Linked DNA regions of Homo sapiens: region 1 is linked to region 2. The links are contacts of gene promoters, found by promoter capture Hi-C in blood cells and fetal thymus (Javierre and others, 2016). All regions are on one chromosome and are shown on one strand. The core of a region is centred on a gene start or on the middle of the fragment in contact, and the rest is flanking DNA. Distances in the headings are between cores, read along the strand shown. Region 1 overlaps CENPN-AS1 (CENPN antisense RNA 1). Region 2 holds the start of GABARAPL2 (GABA type A receptor associated protein like 2).

Region 1 (3,086 bases), core at 580-3,079, 5.5 Mb before region 2:
TGAGCAATGCGTTTACTTCCCAAAGATTAGAAACAACCCAAATGTCTAGTGGCAGGTGAGGCAGAAGTACACTGATTTCCGCCGTTGTTTATTACCTAGGCCTTACTGGGTACCAGGTGGGTCTGGTGGATGCACTTTTCATGCTGTGTCTCATTTTGTCTTCAAAACGACTGTAGCGGGTATGTACTGTAACTTGCCCCACCTTGTGCAGAGAAGGACATTTAGGCTTATATAAATTAAGTAACTTGACCTAGACCACACTATACAAATGAAAAGATTGTTATTATTGATAGGATTAATCATTTTAAGAAGGCTGGATTTGCTTGCTTCTATTTTAGCTGCTGAAATTAGGATTACTGTTTGGGAGACACTGCAGTTCAGTATACGATTACAAAACTTAATACTTAGACTGGGTAGTTCATGTAAATGGACATAGGAGGCTGGGGTAGACAAAAGGGAGGGGTGAGGACTGCAGTGAAATTGGAAACACATCCTTTATTAAAAGGGGGCAGCTGCTACTCATCTTTGGTATGGCTAGAGTTTTATGTGAAAATTTCCACCTTTTACATACTAGCAGCTATATTCGTTTTCTCTTGCTATTAATAAATTACCACAAACTTACTGCCTTAACACAAATTTATTATCTTCCAGCTCTGGAGGTCAAAAGAAATGAGACTGCTGGGCTAAGATCAAGGTGTCAGCAGGGCTGTATTCCTTCCCAAGGCTCCAGGGGAGAATCTGTTCACTTGCCTTTCCCAGCTTCTAGAGGTTGCCTACATTCCTTGGCTTGCGGACCCTTCCTCCATCTCCAGAATCAGTAACGGTGAGTTGAGTCTTCGTCACATCACATCACTCTGATTTCTTCAGTAGTGATCCCTCTGATTCTTCTATTCTTGAGGCCCCCTGTGATGACATTGGGCCCATTCAAATCATCCAGGATAATTTCTCCAACTGCCAAGTCCCTTTGCCTTGCAAGATAACTGTGATAATGTGAAGTATATATTTGGTCTTTGTCCTGGCATGCAATTCCTAAAATCCTTGGAATCAGCAAATTGGTGTTTTTTTGTATGCTAATTAGTTGACTGATGACTCACAGTCCCTAGGTAGCTTTAGGATGGGACTGGTCACTGGAAAGACCAAGGTAGGATTAGAGGCTTGAGACTTTCAGCCCTCCCCCTCAACCTCTGGGGAGGAGACAGGGGCTGAAGCTTAAGCTGATCAATCATTCCTAGGTAATGAAGCCTCCATAAAATCCCAAAAGAAATGGGTTTGGAGAACTTCCAGATAGCTGAATGCATGGAGTTTCCTGGAGGGAGGCGCACTCAAAGAGGGCATGCGTGGAAGCTCTTGCCCTATGCATCTTTTCATCTGAATCCTTTGTAACATCCCTTGTAAGAAGTCAGTCTATGTGTCTTCCTGAGTTCTGTGAGCTGCCCTAGCAAATTAATTGAACATGAAGAGAGGGTTGTGGGAAATGCAATTTATAGCTGGTTAGTCAGAAGCGCAGGTGAAACAACCTGGGGCTGGCAACTGGCCTCAGAAGTGGGTGGCAGTTTTGTGGGACTGAGCCCTTAACCTATGGGGTCTGATGATATCGCCAGGTAGTTAGTGTTGGAATTGAACTGGAGCATACCCAGCTGGTATCTGCTGTAGAACTGATTGCTTATGTCAACCAAGAAGAGGTGAAAGGGCCAGGCATGGTGGCTCACGCCTGTAATCCCAGCACTTTGGGTGGCCGAGGCAGGGCGGATCACGAGGTCAAGAGATCGAGACCATCCTGGCCAACATGGTGAAACTCTGTCTCTACTAAAAATACAAAAATTAGCCGGGTGTGGTGCGCACGCCTGTAATCCCAGCTACTCAGGAGGCTGAGGCAGGAGAATCGCTTGAACCCAGGAGACGGAGGTTGTGGTGAGCCAAGATCGCACCACTGTACTCCAGCCTGGTGACAGAGCAAGACTGTCTCAAAAAAAAAAAAAAAAAAAAGAAGAGGTGAAAGACCACACTGCAAAGCAGTAAGACAAGGCATTTTTTTTTAATTAAAAAAAAAAAAAAGAAAAGAGACAGGGTCTCGCCATTTTGGCCAGCTTGGGGTCAAGTGATCCACCTGCCTCGGCCTCCGAAAGTGCTGGGATTATAGATGCAAGTTACCACGTCCAGCCAAACAAGGCATTTTGATTGGGGTCTTAGAAATTACAATTTGGGAGACACAGATTCACCTAGAAGCCAAATGGGGTTCTGAAAAGAGGGAGAGAAGTAGATGTTTTTAAAAGAAAGCAGAGGGTTAATACACAAATTGTTTTGAAAGAATTATCATTGGTGGAGGTGGCTGGCTTAGTACATGAATCCATAGTTGATTGGTTGCCGCTGTTCAGGAGTTGTAGCACTGGTGAAATTCAGTTTTCCAGGATGTAGTGGTTATTGCAGTTTTGGCCCAGTTCAAAGCTTCAAGGCAAGTTCATATTTTTTGTTTTTGTGTTTTGCAAGTTGCAGATTGTGCAGGCAGTCCTTCTTAGAATGGCTTCCCAACTCCATTTTAGAGCTCTGAACCAAAGTGATGCCATTTTGTGTATCACTTTTCACATTTTCCTTTTTTGATCAAGATCCGAGGCAGCATAGCTGATTAATCATTGGTTGGTTGGCCACAGATTAGTTATCTGTTCCCCTTAGAGCTAGAAGCACCTGTGTCTAGAGTGTTATGTCCCACAAAAAGTGGTTGTCAAGTCAGTGCACATCCAAGCTTCCAAGATTGGTCAAATTTGAGTAACAAAGGGTCCATTTTAACAAGGAGGCCTGCATTAGTCTATAGCAGTTAGCTGTATATCAGGAGAGACATACATTTGATTAACCATTTAAATGTCTAAATGTTGTGACATCATGATTTTAACATCTTGGATACAATGGGACAAACAGAAGGTACAAGTCCTTCTGCCAGCTGCTCGGGTCCTGGGTCCCTTGACTGTGGCTTCCAGAATAGCAGAGCAGCTTTTGGATCCTGCAAACAAGTGCTAAAAAAAAAAAAACACTGAAAATCAACTGATAAAAGACGGATTAATAGGAGAAAAGACATACAAGTTTTATTAACG
Region 2 (3,144 bases), core at 411-2,910:
ACCTGGGAAAGTAAAGAGAGGTCAGGACTGTGTTTCCTAAAGCGAGGCTCTGGCCTCACATGGCTGAGGAGCTGATGAACAGAGTGTGGGCAAGGAGGTGGGTGGGGAACTGCATAGCAGGAGAAAATATGTCTTTGGCTTAATAAACCACACGCTCTGGAGGTTAAGAATTGATATAAATGTGTTACAGGGAAACAGTAAGTGCTTTTCTGTGGTCAATTATGTAAGAGAAATGCAGCCCTTACCACTAAGCTTTTCCACATTTTATCTGGGCAGACCTAAGAATATCTGGGGAGGGTTTCATCCATGGCCCGTTACTCCAGGACCCCAGAATGGATCCACCTTCACACTACAGGAAACACTACTGTGTTCCCAAGGAACACAGGAGACAAGAATGGATGGACTAATTGGAATGCCTGGAATTTTAGCCAGCCAAGAACCAAGTTCTTCATTTGGCCTGTTGCTCCTCTCTGAACAAGTTTCAAATCCGTCCCTCCTACTCCTTTCCCCAGACAAATTATTCACAAGCAAAGAGCTACAATAACAGGCCTTAATGTCCATTAAAAATTAATAACGATTACAAAACTATCTCCCCAACCATGGAAGAAATATAACATTATATTTATTATTGACTAAGAAGAAAATATGGCAGAAGGGGTTTTCAGCGGCTTTTCACATTATTTTGGTCAGGCAAGGATGACAGGGTCAAGGTGAGATAACGGAGCTAGAAGTTAGGTAAAGATGGAGACAAAGTAAAAGATGAACGTCCTGAGACTCAAGTACCACTTCCAAGACCAAAATGACAGTCTCCCTCCACCACCATTCCCAAAAGTGGCAGTGACCTGTTGCCCTGTCCTAGAACATCGTTCCTTACATAATTGGCCAGGGAGCCCCGAGGCTGCAGACGGCTCGCTGGCCTAGATCGGGAGATTCAGCACTGAGGCACCCTGAACAGCACCAGCCCGAGCCCCTCACGCCCCGGCCCTGGGCGGCCTCATCCCGGTCTGGCCCGTCAGCTACTGTAACTGGGACTGGAACCTCAACTTGTCAACTGTTGAATGGCCTGGGGCCTATCACGGGTCCCAGACGACAGAGGTGACAGCGAGGTGAGGGGGCGGAGAGTCCACTCACCGGAACCCTGTCGGGATATTTCGCTCGAATCTTCGCGGACTCCACGCATCTGTGTTCTGTGGGAGAAACAAACGGGGCTGACGGCCGCGCCTGCCCACCGGTCGGTTCCCGGCCCCCGGCCCTCCTCCTCCTGCGCCCTGCGTACAACCCAGGCCCTGGTTCCGGCGTCCCCGGGGCCGCGGTCCTGTCCCCTACTAGCTCCCAGCAAGGCCCGCGGAGGGTGACATGGGGTCAGGGGGCCGCTGCCCGAGGCACCAGGGCATGGGCGACTCCAGCCCGCAGCAGGGCATCCGCCCCGCTCCACTCGGCCCAGGGCCGCCCGAGTGGGGGAGGGGGCCCACCCGCCGCCCCAGCCCCCAGCAGCCGGGCCGACGACCAAGTGCTTACCCAGCGAGTGGTCCTCCTTGAACATCCACTTCATGGCGGCGGCGGGAAGGGGACGGAACCGGCTCGCGGAGCCGCGGAGCTCAGCGCACCGAGCACAACAACAACGACGGCGGCAGCGGCAGCGGCAGCGACGGCGGCGACTACACGGCAGGCGGGACTTCCGGCTGTCGGAGCCTAGCAACCGGCCGGGGGCGGGGCTTCCGGCGCCATTTGTCAGGGCGCCACGCCAAGGGGCGGGGCCGCACGTAAAGGGGCGGGGCCGCGGAGGACCCCTTTGGGGGCTCCTGGGCTGCGGTGGCGAAGAAGTTGGTTATGGGGACGTCTGTGAGCAGTATCTGCGACATTGCTCGCAGGAATGTTCGGGGAACTGGTGACAGGAGTGGGGTCTCGGGAGCGTTGGTGGCGGAAAACGTCTGGCTGATAGTGTAGGGCTCTTACTGAGGGCTGTTTGGGGGTGTGGCTGATAGCTGAGGGCTCTTAGAGCGGTTCATAGGGGAAGTCTGGGGAATTGGTGACAAGAACGGTCTTTAGGGGTAAGAATGACATAAGGAGGGCTTTCTAGAGCTTGGCGATAACAAGGGAGCTGTTTAGGGCGTTGACAGTTTGGGGAGTATTGCTCGGAGTGGTGACAGGTTGGGGGCTCATTATGGGAGGGGAGGGTGTTTGAGGACACTGTTGGAAGCGGCACTGAGGACAACCCGGAGGTCCGTATTAGGGACAGCCGTAGTAGGTTGTCTTGGACCTAGAAATTGAATTTAAACAAATCCCGTTTTCTTCCTTTATTCGTGAATAAATATTTGAATAAACATTTACGAAAAGGTATCACAAATGCACATTTGAGGCGGGGTACGGTGGCTCACGCCTGTAATCCCAACACTTTGGGAGGCCGACGCGGGTGGATCACCTGAGGTCAGGAGTTGAAGACCAGCCTGGCCAACATGGTGAAACCCCGTCTCTACTAAAAATACAAAAATTAGCCAGGCATGGTAGTGGGCGCCTGTAGTCCCAGCTCCTCGGGAGGCTGAGGCAGGAGAATCGTTTGAACCAGGGAGGTGGAGGTGGCAGTGAGCCGAGATCACACCACTGCACTCCAGCCTGGGCAACAGAGCAAGACTCCGCCTCAAAAAAAAATGCACATTTGAGGAGTGTAACATCACTGATCACAGACCCCTTAATTTTAACTGGCAGAGGAGTTAGAGGTGACTGTCAGACTCGGAGAATTCCCCTGAGAGCTGGTCATGAGATGGGTTTCCTTATTTGGCTGTGGGAGTGGTTTAGCAATCACAGCCTGAGCTGTGTGTGTGTCACCTGCCCGGACATATGCTTTGAGGTTCTCCAATCAGTGATGTAATGCCTTTTTTCCAAGCAGACTCATCAAGGCAGTCTGGTCTGGGTCACCATCTGTTTATAAGCTGCTGAACATGTAGCAGGAATATTCACTTAATTGGGCACATGAACCCTGCCACGTGCTTGTGATTCTGATGCACCTGTAAAGCCTGTATGTTTGAATGTGGTAGTTCATCATTTCCTACACTGGAAATTCCTGATCGATGCTGTGGAATCTAGCTTCATTCTATAAGTATTTTTGTTATTTTAAGACTGTGTGTCTGAGTAACTAGAATAGGT

The links. Contacts are between HindIII fragments. The CHiCAGO score rates a contact against its expected background, and 5 or more counts as called.
Region 1: a contact is called between a fragment that was not itself captured here and the fragment with the promoter of GABARAPL2 in region 2, in 1 of 17 cell types (total CD4 T cells). The highest score is 5.8, in total CD4 T cells.

The regions. Positions count from the first base shown.
Region 1 is chr16:81,032,492-81,035,577 of GRCh38, reverse strand. CENPN-AS1 (CENPN antisense RNA 1) reads left to right here. Exons shown (of 4, transcript XR_007065134.1): 2 at 652-823. It also overlaps a transcript of CENPN not described here. Among named protein-coding and RNA genes, the nearest start is that of ATMIN, 1.8 kb to the left of the region's middle. The HindIII fragment of the contact is 1,237 bases long and covers 1,211-2,447 here.
Region 2 is chr16:75,564,895-75,568,038 of GRCh38, reverse strand. It overlaps GABARAPL2 (GABA type A receptor associated protein like 2), which reads right to left and starts at 1,660. Exons shown (of 4, transcript NM_007285.7): 1 at 1,519-1,660; 2 at 1,132-1,187; 3 at 1-2. The coding sequence starts at 1,552. RefSeq lists an enhancer at 445-1,198 and a silencer at 1,188-1,597. The HindIII fragment of the contact is 5,212 bases long and covers 255-3,144 here.